Linked DNA regions of Homo sapiens: regions 2 and 3 are each linked to region 1. The links are contacts of gene promoters, found by promoter capture Hi-C in blood cells and fetal thymus (Javierre and others, 2016). All regions are on one chromosome and are shown on one strand. The core of a region is centred on a gene start or on the middle of the fragment in contact, and the rest is flanking DNA. Distances in the headings are between cores, read along the strand shown.

Region 1 (3,948 bases), core at 439-2,938:
CCTCATGAGTTGCTGGGAGGATGAAGGGAGTTAATGTCTGAGAAGCACCTAGAACAATACCTGGCGCATAGCAAGCAAGACCCAAGTGTCAACGATTCTTATTTACTTACTTTCTTGTCTTTTCTTTTTATTGAGACAAGAGTCTTGCTCTGTGGCCCAGGCTGGAGTGCAGTGGTGCGATCTTGGTTCACTGCAACCTCTGCCTCCTGGGTTCAAGCGATTCTTCTGCCTCAGTCTCCTGAGTAGCTGGGACTACAGGCGCATGCCACCACGACTGGCTAATTTTTTGTATTTTTAGTAGAGATGGGGTTTCACTGTGTTAGCCAGGATGGTCTCGATCTCCTGATCTCATGATTCAACCTCCTCAGCCTCCCAAAGTGCTGGGATTACAGGCGTAAGCCACCACGCCCGGCTGTTATTTACTTTCTATTGGCTATAACACAGAGACAATACACTCCTTGAAGCCACCACTCATAATATGTATTGTTAGGAATACAACATAGTCTGTTTTGACTTTTAAAGGTAATATTTGCATAAAGTAAAAAAAAAAAAAAAACTCCAGTAGTATAATTGCACTCTCCAATATAATAGCCACTAGCCATATGTGACTAAATTAATTAAAATTAATAAAGTTAAAAATTCAGTTCCTTGATTTCAGTAGCCACATTTCATGCAGGCAATACCCACATGAAGCTACAGGACATTTCTATCACTGAAAAATGTTTATTAGAGGTGGCAGATTGTGAAACCTCTTGCCCTTTCCTACCTTCCGTTTCCCGGGGTAGTCACTGTTACTAGTTTCTTGTATAGTATTTAGTATTTATTTATTTTTTTAGATGGAGTCTTGCTCTGTTACCCAGGCTGGAGTGTAGTGGCACGATCTTGGCTCACTGCAACCTCCGCTTCCCAGGTTCAAGCGATTCTCCTGCCTCAGCCTCTTGAGTAGCTGGGATTATAGGCGCATACCACCAGGTTCAGCTAATTTTTGTATTTTCAGTAGAGACGGAATTTCGCCATGTGGGCCAGGCTGGTCTCGAACCCCTGACCTCAAGTAATCCGCCCGCCTCGGCCTCCCAAAGTGTTGGTATTACAGGCAGGAGCCACCACACCCGGCCTCAATATATATTTTTATTACATAAATGTTACCATATTATTTGCACTGCTCTGTATCTAATTTTTGTTTTATTTAAAATGTATTAACTACTGTTTTCTAACAGCTCAAAGATTTAGAGCATGTGATATTAGGCTTTCAGAGCAGCTCTTAAAACTTTAAAGCACAATTTGAATATAAGAAATATGCATAGGTTTCAAGGACAGGTCGTATTTGGTTAAAAAATATGCATATGCTGTTCCTTGGGAGCAGGTGGAAGGAATGAATTACTTCAATTTCCTTCCTTGTGTGGCACCTGCGAAAACCACGTTGCAGCTGAGTGAATTGAAGTCACCAGCTGACAATCATCCTACTAGCTTGATAGGGAATGCTTCAGCCCCCACAGTGCTGCTCAGAGATCTCCTGCATCGTGGAATCACCCTGCATAAAAGCGGTTGGGGCACTGTTAAGACGTCTGATATCTGGGGCCCGCCCACTGGCGACTGCAGGTCGCGGGGCCACCCCGGTCCGCGGGGAAGGGGACCCCGCCGCCTTCCCGAGGTGAGCGGCGCCCCCTGCCGCCAGCCGGAGGAGCTCAGGGCCGCTCGCAGGAGGCCGGGAACATGGCGGGGCAGCCCGCGGCCACCGGCTCGCCGTCTGCCGACAAGGACGGAATGGAGCCCAACGTCGTGGCTCGGATCTCGCAGTGGGCAGACGACCACCTGCGCCTAGTCCGGGTACTGGGGCCACGCAGTCTGGGCGGGTGGTGGGCGCGGGGCGGCACAGAGCGACCCTGAGAACAACGTGAGGCCTCAGGCGTGGATCCCGCCGGGGCCGGGGAGCGACAGAAAACTGCGGGGGAATGAGCTCGAGAGGGCGACATCGCGAGTGTCGTGTGTGCGGGGCTGCAGAGGGCCGGGGGCGGGCCAGGGGGCCAGTTCGGCCTCATTATTACAAGGACTGTTCTGGATCCTTGCTGGGCTGTAGGGGGCACCTCAAAGGGTGAGACGCAGCCCAGCTCGGGGATGCCACCTGGTCCATTAGAGCATTTGGGGAGGGCCCAGAGAGGAGACCGAGGAAGAGCAGGGAAGTCCTGTACGCCTTGGGAGAGAGCATTTCTAATTTTTATTTATTTTTAATTTTATTTTTTAGGGACACGGTATTCCTCTCTGGCCCAAGCTGGAGTGCAGTGGCACGATCATAGCTCACTGCTGCTGCTCCACCCACTTCGGCCGAAAAGATCCTCCCACTTCAGCCTCCCGAGTAGCTGGAACCACAGGTTGCGTGCGCTACCCCATCGACTACTTTCTTTTAGAGTTAGAGACTGGGAGTCTTGCTATGTTGTCCAGGCTGTCCTCCAACTCCTGGCCTCAAGTGATCTCCCACCTCAGCCTCCCGAATAGATTTCTTTTTTTTGAGACAGGGTCTCCCTCTGTCACGCCTGGAGTGCAGTGGCACCATTATGTCTCGTTGCAGTCTCCACTTCCTGGGCTTAAGCAATCCTCCCACCTCAGGCTCCCGAGTAGCTAGGGCTACAGGCACTTGTCACCACACCAGGCTAATTTGTTTTTTGTTTGTAGAGGCAAGGTCTTCCTGTGTTGCCCAGGCTGGCCTTGAACTCCTGGTCTCAAGAGATCTGCCCGCCTCGGCCTCCCAAAGCACTGGGATTGTAGGCATCAGCCACTGGTGCCCTGCCTTTTTTTTTTTTTTTTTTTTTAAGTGAAGCACTAAGCCTCTGGAGTTGAAGCAAGAGAGGGACATGTTAGGCCACCAGGCAAGAGAGGGTTGTGGCTAAGACACAGAATTGTGGTGATATGAATTGTTTGGGTGTGAGGTACAAAGAAAGAGGTCCAAGGAGGCTGGTAATAGTTGCTGATAAGGAGAAGGAGTTGGAATAAATGATTTATTGGGGAAAATCTAGAGAACTTTTTGGACACGTACATGGAGATGTGCAAATTTGGAGATCATTATTAGACTTCTAAGCAGAATTGTAGATGCTGTCCTTGGCAACTGGATATGGGGTCCGGTGTTGAAGGGAGATCAGAACCTGACATAGAACATTGGGAATGACCTGCATAAACCTTAAGTAGCATTTAAAGCCGTGGGCTTGAATAACATCTCAGAGCAAGTGAGAAAAGCTACTGAAGAAGCCCTAGAATTTGGGGGATTATAACATTGAGAATCTGGGGAGTAAAGAGGAGGTCAGCAAAGACTAAGAAGAAGCAGACAGTGAGGTAGTAAAAAAGTCAAGACAGCCAGGTGTTCTAGAAGCCAAGTGAAGAAAATGTTTTCAGAAGGAATCATTAACTTTAAAAAATAATACTGGAAAGTTGAGTAAGATAACTTTGCAAATGCTCTACAGCCAAGCAGCACAAAGTCCAAAGCCATGCCTGTTTTCACTCATCATTGTAGCCCCAGTTCTTAGAGTAATGCCTGCTACTTAGTAAGTGCTAGATAAATATTTGTAGCATCATTGAATGGTAAATAATATATGTGTTAATTGGTGAAAACTCATTTCTTCCAGTTAAGCAGTAATAGATGCATGGGTTATTTCAAATTAAAAAATGACTTCAGAAGGATTATGGGAGGAAGTTGTGTAAATTAGAACATAGTTATAATATTACAAATAATCCAATCACAGAACCCAGAGTATGTACCTTTGTGCATATTTTCAATCTCATTTCCTTTTTCTTTTTTTTTAGACCAAGTCTTGCACTTGTCCCCCAGGCTGGAGTGCAATGGTGTGATCTCGGCTCACTGCAACCTCTGCCTCCCAGGTTCAAGTGATTGTCCTGCCTCACCCTCCTGAGTAGCTGGGATTACAGGTGCCTGCCACCAAGCCTGGCTAATTTTTGTAT
Region 2 (3,948 bases), core at 590-3,089, 1.5 Mb after region 1:
TATTAAATGCTTATCAATTTCTTGTTTTTTTCTTTTCATAAGAGTATAGATTTTGTTCTCATTAACTCTCTTAGTTGTATGGTGTCAACAATATAAATTTTTTTTCCCAATTATATAGTCTTCAACAGAATTGTTTTTACTTTTATTATCCCTGGCTAACTTTTAAACTTTTTATAATGAAACATTTTAAATATACAAAAAAACTAGAGACTTTTTTTTTTTTTTTGAGGTGGAGTCTCGCTCTGTTTCCCAGGCTGGAGTGCAGTGGCACGATCTCAGCTCACTGCAACCTCCGCCTCCCAGGTTCAAGCAGTTCCCTGCCTCAGCCTCCCGAGTAGCTGGGATTATAGGCACCCATCACCACACCTGGGTAATTTTTGTATTTTTAGTAGAGACAGGGTTTCACCATCTTAGCCAGGTTGGTCTTGAACTCCTGACCTTGTAATCCACCTGCCTTGGCCTCTCAAAGTGCTGGGATTGCGGGCGTGAGCCACTGCACCCAGCCAAAACTAGAGAATCTTAATGAATCCACGACTTCAGTGCCAACAATTATTTTTTCAGTCCTAGTTTTTTCTTAAAGTCAATTGCAGCTGTCACATTTCATTTCTAAATGTATAAGCAAGAATCTCTAAAGGCAATTTTCTATATAACCATCATGTCTTTATCATACCTAATCCTTAATACCATCTGATAATCCAGTCTGTAATCAGATTTTCCCATTTTTCTGAAAAGTGTCTTTCACAACTAGCCTGTTCAAACTATAGAAAGTGTCAACATCTTTTGATCTAGCTCTAGAACATTGCTCCCCTCCACTCCCTGCTTTTCCTCATGGTAATGTAAAGTCATGGAAAAGACCAGGCCATTTGTTCTCTAATAAGTCCAACTTTCTGAATTTGTGTGACTCTTTATGCTATCATTTCATTTGATTCTCTCTTACCTTTATTTCCTGTAACTCGAAAGTTATATCTGAAAGCTTGATTCAATTCAAGTATTTTTGGCTTGAATATTATAGTTGTAATATTTCATACTGTCACAGAGACAAGTAATTCAGAGGATTCTTTTTTAGCAACATCAGTTGCTTGGCAGCTGTTCACTACTTTTTATTTTTAAGATTCGTAAAATCTCTTCACAGTCAGAGTCCATGGGGATCATCATATCCTTTAGATAACAACAGTTCTTTTCTGGGGAAGTATAGCTGACTTGAATCATTTGGGCATTTAAGTCAGATTGTATTTTTGTAAGCATAGTTAAATGTGAAATTAACTCTTGCTTTCTTGATACTCTCCCTTTCACCCATCACTGTATTACACCAGACTTTCTGTGTTGGCTAATAATTGTGAATGGGCTTGAGCTATTTCATTTGGAAACTTAAAAAGTAGGAATTTCTTATATTTTTAACAAAATATGTGTAAAATGTGGGTCACTTTTGGAATGTATTATTATTATTATTATTATTATTTTTGAGACGGAGTCTCGCTCTGTCACCTAGGCTGGAGTGCAGTGGCGCGATCTCGGCTCACTGCAAGCTCCGCCTCCCAGGTTCACGCCATTCTCCTGCCTCAGCCTCCCAGGTAGCTGGGACTACAGGCGCCCGCCAACACGCCCAGCTAAGTTTTTGTATTTTTAGTATAGACGGGGTTTCACCGTGTTAGCCAGGATGGTCTTGATCTCCTGACCTCGTGATCCGCCCGCCTCGGCCTCCCAAAGTGCTGGGATTACAGGCATGAGCCACCGCGCCTGGCCTGGAATGTATTATTTTTAACAAGGACTATTTCATTATTTTCTAACTAGGACATGGGTATTTAATAAGTAATTTGCTCTAAAAATTTAGATATTATCGGTTTGATTAAAATAGTGAGGATTGCCAGGTGCAGGGCTCATGCCTGTAATCTGTAATCCCAGTACTTCGGAAGGCTGAGGTGGGTGGATTGCTTGAGCTTGGGAGTTCAAGACCAGCCTGGGCAACATGGCAAATCCCCATCTCTACAAAAAATACAAAAATTAGCCAAACATGGTTGTGCATGCCTGTGGTCTCAGCTACTCGGGAGGCTGAGGTGGGAGGATCACTTGAGCCCAGGGGGCAGAGGTTGCAGTGAGCAGAGATCACACCACAGCAACGGGCAACAGAATGAGACCCTGACTGAACAACAAAAAAATAGGATCACCCAAAGTGTACAAACGTATTCATGTTAAACAGAATTGTTGCCTATTCATTCAGTTTTTATTGGTGTAATTTGAAAAGATTACTCCCAACTTTTGAGCATTCTTTAAGAATTTGGGGAAAATACTTATCAATATGAAATAAACTAACAGAACAAAATGTTAGCTTGAACTTGGAGCGCTCAGAAAACAAGACTATAAAGAAATTAAGTTGGTCTGTTTGTATGTAGAAATAAAAATAAAGAATTTTTGGTTCACTTAAACACATGGGCAGTTTGTCAACTCAGATGGTTTAGCTGTTTTCATTAAATAATGTTCAATGTCTTATCAAAAAAAGAATTGAGTGGTTCAGCTTCTGAATTCATTGTCTCATATGTGTTTGATGGAGCTTTTCTGCAACTCTTTATCTTAAAATTTAATTCTCTTTAATTTTCAGATAAATTTTTAATTATACCTTTACATTCACTGATGCCTACAGTTAACCAGACACAGGTATGTTAAATGGATACATTTGTTAAATGTATTTCAAACTGAGGCAAGCTTTAAGGACTGCTTGTTACGTGTTTTCCTTTATTTTTTTTAAGGAGTATTTTCAAATAGTAATTCATGTAAAAAAATACTTCTTTGAGAACCTTTGCAAATGAGTCTTCAGGGGATGATTGCTCAAAAACTTGAATATCAGCGGATAACCCACAAATCAGATTAGTTTTGTCTACATTAGGAAAAAGTTTAAAGAATTGGTTTCACCAGTAACTTCGTTGAGTTTCCTGAGTAAGAGAAAAAGGTCTGTGAGTACTACTAAAAGTAACCAAACCTAGAAATTAATGATCTGTGACATACTACAGTTTGATGATGATTTGAGATTTAATTTCACAAAGCTAGTATATTCACAGGTATAAAATTTCTGTTTTAATAATGTATTATGAATGTTTGGCTCCATCAGATACAGGCGCTTTCCTAATTAGAGTGAACACTACATTCTCAGAGGCAGGATAATGTTATGATCTACAGTATTTGCAGGCTCTTGCAAAATGAAATTGATTAGAAAACCTGCTCCTCCCCCCATTTCTAGTTTATCCTTTTCTCTTTTTATAAGAAAATATCAAGATACTTTTCTTTGAGACCCTTTTAATATTTTTGTTGCTGGTACCTTAGTCATGAATTAGATACAGAGTACATACCTGAGAGAAGAGAGGGGGCAAGAAAGAAAACTCTTGATTCCAAAGACTGAAAGAGTATCCAGCATGGAAGTATTCATCTTCCACACCATAACCTAGTAAATTATGTATTCCTTTGCTGGAGAGTATGTGAATAGCCTGGGAAACATTTTCTGTATTGACTACCAGTTTTGTAAATGAAGGGATAAGTTTTTGCTTTTTGTTTGTTTGCATTATCGCCAGTGGTACTTGATTACCTATCTTCTTTCTACTTTAGTGACATTGTCGGGTTGTGGGGCAGTATTTGTAGAATTCTCCATTTAAAGAGGATTTTTTTTTTTCACTCCAATCTGATCTCAAGCTAGTAGACAGTGGTTGGTACAGCTGCACAGTTGACATTTGTTCTGCTGGGTTGGGCATCTGCCTGATTATTCAGTGTTCTTACCCATGGAGACTTGACTTCATTATTCTTGTCCTAACAGAAATATCCCTCCCTCTACTTTATAACCTCCAGCTTTTGTTAAAAAACTGCTGTAAATTTAAATAATGATACCTCATTGGAAATCTTGTTTGTGATAAGATTGTGACATCTGTGGGAGATTTAATGTGGTTTACCAAAAGATAATTTTGT
Region 3 (3,948 bases), core at 1,065-3,564, 1.4 Mb before region 1:
GAAGCAAGTGCCTCACTCACCTCATCCTAGTCCTGGCCCTGGGAATGTTTTAATTACTTTTATTAAGATATCAACAGGCAAGTTTCCTCTCAGTCTATTTCCAGACATAGATATATATCCAAATAATAAAGAGTAAAAGCAAGCATGATTTCTAAATAAAAGGGCTTTCAACAGGGATTAATTACATGTTCTCCCTCACTGAAGAAACACAACGCATCTCAGAAGGGATACAGATACTGGCATACCTTGTTTAAAAACAGCAGCCACAGTCTGTTAATTCTATCTGCTTCCCATGAGAAAGAAAAATCATCCCATGGCAGTTTAATTGGCCTTCACCCACATGTAGGGGGTTTATGAACATGTAGTCCCTTTGGGAAAATATCTAAAGAAAAATTCTTCAGAGTTGAATATGACTATGAGAGGGCTGGATAAAGTAAGTAGCAGTTTTTAAACAGGGTCCTAACTTTTTTTATACTCTTCATGGAGAGGTGGAGGAGGAAGTGTCTATGGCCACACCTCTTGACTATGGGCAGGCTTGTGACTGTTTCAACCAACAGACCACTGTGGACATGATAATGAAGCTTGGCAATCCAGCCTTGTGCACTAGAACACTCATGCTTGGAACCCTGAACCACCTGGTAAAAAGTCTGACTACCCTGAGATCACTAGCTGTAAGGAAACCAAATCACATAAGGCAGCCAGGTGTGAGTGTTCCCATCAGCAATTCTAGTCTTTAAGCCAGCCCGGCTTAAGAGATGAGACCTGACACCACAAGAAGCAGGGATTATTCCTTCCGTGTCTGATGTGAATTTCCCCAAAATTCATGAACATAAGAAATGGTTGTTTCAAGATGCTTAATTTGGGCCAATTTGCTATGTAGCAATAGTAACTGCAACAGAGTATGAGAGTCAAAGATATTTGTATCAATATGAATTGAGATTAATTATCCAAAATATTTCAATCATCTACAGAATAGATGTTTGAAAGTTCACAATACTCTGGAATAAAATATTTTCTACATAATGTAAAGCAAAGCATTATTTGCAAACATGTAAATACATGTTGTCCCATGAGAGGTTTTCCATTATAACTTCAGAGTAATTAAACATACAAAGACCAATCCCTTGCTAATCTTTCTGTTCAAATTGCTTAATTATGAGAGCTTCTGTGTTCATTGTAAGACAGAAAGATAAGGTTAATAAATCTTGTCCTTTGAACTCTCATTTCAAATTTTATCCCTGAGTGCAGATGTTGTTAAAATGTTTTCTCAAGCTTCTCAGTAACAGAGTTGGTTAGTACTTTTCTGGTGAGGATATTATTTCATGTCTGTATGTTCTAAAGTTCTAGCAGTGTAACATTATTGCTGATTTTAAAGACTGATACACCCCGTCTGGGAAGTGAGGAGCGCTTCTACCCGGCTGCCCCGTCTGGGAAATGAGGAGCGCTTCTGCCCGGCTGCCCCGTCTCGTAAGTGAGGAGCGCCTCTGCCCGGCCGCCCATCATCTGGGATGTGAGGAATGCCTCTGCCCGGCCTCCCCATCTGGGAGGTGAGGAGCACCTCTGCCTGGCCGCCCATCATCTGGGATGTGAGGAGCACCTCTGCCTGGCTGCCCTTCGTCTGGGAGGTGAGGAGCGCCTCTGCCCGGCCGCCCCGTCTAGGAAGCGAGCGCCTCTGCCCGGCCGCCCTTTGGGAGGTGAGGAGCGTCTCTGCCCAGCCACCCCATCTAGGAAGCGAGCGCCTCTGCCCGGCCACCCTTCGTCTGGGAGGTGAGGAGCGTCTCTGCCCAGCCACCCCATCTGGGAGCTGAGGAGCACCTCTGCCCGGCCGCCCATCATCTGGGAAGTGAGGAGCGCCTCTGCCCAGCCGCCCATCGTCTGGGAGGTAAGGAGAGCCTCTGCCCAGCCGCCCCGTCTAGGAAGCGAGCGCCTCTGCCCGGCCGCCCTTTGTCTGGGAGGTGAGGAGCGTCTCTGCCCAGCCACCCCATCTAGGAAGCGAGTGCCTCTGCCCGGCCACCCTTCGTCTGGGAGGTGAGGAGCGTCTCTGCCCAGCCACCCCATCTGGGAGCTGAGGAGCACCTCTGCCCGGCTGCCCATCATCTGGGAAGTGAGGAGCGCCTCTGCCCGGCCGCCCATCGTCTGGGATGTGAGGAGCACCTCTGCCTGGCCGCCCATCATCTGGGAAGTGAGGAGCGCCTCTGCCCGGCCGCCGATCATCTGGGATGTGAGGAGCGCCTCTGCCTGGCCGCCCCGTCTGGGAGGTGAGGAGCGCCTCTGCCCGGCCACCCATCATCTGGGATGTGAGGAGCGCCTCTGCCCAGCCGCCCTTCTTCTGGGAGGTGAGGAGCGCCTCTGCCCAGCCGCCCCATCTAGGAAGCGAGCACCTCTGCCCAGCCGCCCCATCTGTGAGGTGAGGAGCGCCTCTGCCCTGCTGCCCCGTCTGGGAGGTGAGGAGCGCCTCTGCCCGGCCGCCCATCATCTGGGAAGTGAGGAGCACCTCTGCCCGGCCACCCCGTCTGGGAAGTGAGGAGCGCCTCTGCCCGGCCGCCCCGTCTGGGAAGTGAGGAGTGTCTCTGCCCAGCCGCCCCGTATGGGATGTGAGGAGCGCCTCTGTCCGGCCGCCCCGTCTGGGAAGTGAGGAGCACCTTTGCCCAGCCACCCCGTCTGTGAGGTGTACCCAACAGCTCTGAAGAGACAGCGACCATCAAGAAAGGGCCATGATGACGATGGCGGTTTTGTCGAAAAGAAAAGGAGGAAATGTAGGGAAAAGAAGGAGAGATGAGATTTTTACTGTGTCTGTGTAGAAAGAAGTAGACATAGGTGACTCCATTTTGTTCAGTACTAAGAAAAATTCTTCTGCCTTGGGACACTGTTAATCTATAACCTTACCCCCAACCCTGTGCTCTCTGAAACATGTGCTGTGTCAACTCAGGGTTAAATGGATTAAGGGCGGTGCAAGATGTGCTTTGTTAAACAGATGCTTGAAGGCAGCATGCTCGTTAAGAGTCATCACCACTCCCTAATCTCAAGTACCCAGGGACACAAACACTGCGGAAGGCCACAAGGACCTCTGCCTAGGAAAACCAGAGACCTTTGTTCACGTGTTTATCTGCTGACCTTCTCTCCACTATTATCCTATGACCCTGCCACAACCCCCTCTCTGAGAAACACCCAAGAATGATCAATAAATACAAAAAAAAAAAGACTGATACAATCATTCGTTTGTATTTTAAAACTACAAAAATTAAATTAACCCCCAACAATGCTCCTGGTTCCCCCTCCCCATTAAAATGCTGTATATAGTAAGGATAATAAAGTCCTATACATATATAAAACTGTCCTTGGAATAAACAAGCTTCATGTTTCTACCATCCTGGGATCCAGGTTTCCAACTACTTTATGGTTCACTTATAAACTTAAAGAACCACCACCTTGGAAGGTAGAATTTTTTGAAAAAGAGAACAAGATCGAATAACGGTGCTTCTGTGATTTGTAGAGGTCAGGGAAGAAATATAGCATTATACAGATATGGGAATAATTTGTCCTAACATAAATGTTTAGATTGAAGATCACAGAGAGTATCATCTTTTGTCTCCACTATCCAACTACAAAATGTCACTAAAGTGAACAATTATTTTTAAATTATGGAATACACAGCAGTTTATTTTCTTTCAGTATAGGCAGCTGAAACATAAATCAAACTTCAGGAATACCTTCAAATACTTTATCAAAATATATGTTCCAATCAATTTCTGCAAGTTACGGTTGACCAAGCAGAATTACAAACACCAAAGAAGCAAATTGGGGTGGGCACAGTGGCTCACACCTGTAATCCCAACACTTTGGGAGGCCGAGGCGGGCAAATCACTTGAGGCAAGGAATTTGGGACCAGCCTGACCAACATGGTGAGCCCCCATCTCTACTAAAAATACAAAAATTAGCCAGGTGTAG

What was found. Contacts are between HindIII fragments. The CHiCAGO score rates a contact against its expected background, and 5 or more counts as called.
Region 2: a fragment that was not itself captured here is called in contact with the fragment with the promoter of C3orf33 in region 1 in 2 of 17 cell types (activated CD4 T cells and total CD4 T cells); the score reaches 5.7 in activated CD4 T cells.
Region 3: a contact is called between a fragment that was not itself captured here and the fragment with the promoter of C3orf33 in region 1, in 1 of 17 cell types (total CD4 T cells). The highest score is 6.7, in total CD4 T cells.

The regions. Positions count from the first base shown.
Region 1 is chr3:155,804,018-155,807,965 of GRCh38, reverse strand. C3orf33 (chromosome 3 open reading frame 33) reads left to right here and starts at 1,688. Exons shown (of 5, transcript NM_001308229.2): 1 at 1,688-1,827. The coding sequence starts at 1,714. RefSeq lists a silencer at 1,404-1,753. The HindIII fragment of the contact is 11,000 bases long and covers 1-3,948 here.
Region 2 is chr3:154,293,988-154,297,935 of GRCh38, reverse strand. DHX36 (DEAH-box helicase 36) reads left to right here. Exons shown (of 25, transcript NM_020865.3): 13 at 2,597-2,652. Among named protein-coding and RNA genes, the nearest start is that of DHX36, 29 kb to the left of the region's middle. The HindIII fragment of the contact is 1,727 bases long and covers 976-2,702 here.
Region 3 is chr3:157,177,193-157,181,140 of GRCh38, reverse strand. The region is part of intron 2 of LOC101928236 (a long non-coding RNA gene); the gene reads right to left. Among named protein-coding and RNA genes, the nearest start is that of CCNL1, 19 kb to the right of the region's middle. RefSeq lists an enhancer at 2,757-3,258. The HindIII fragment of the contact is 2,080 bases long and covers 1,275-3,354 here.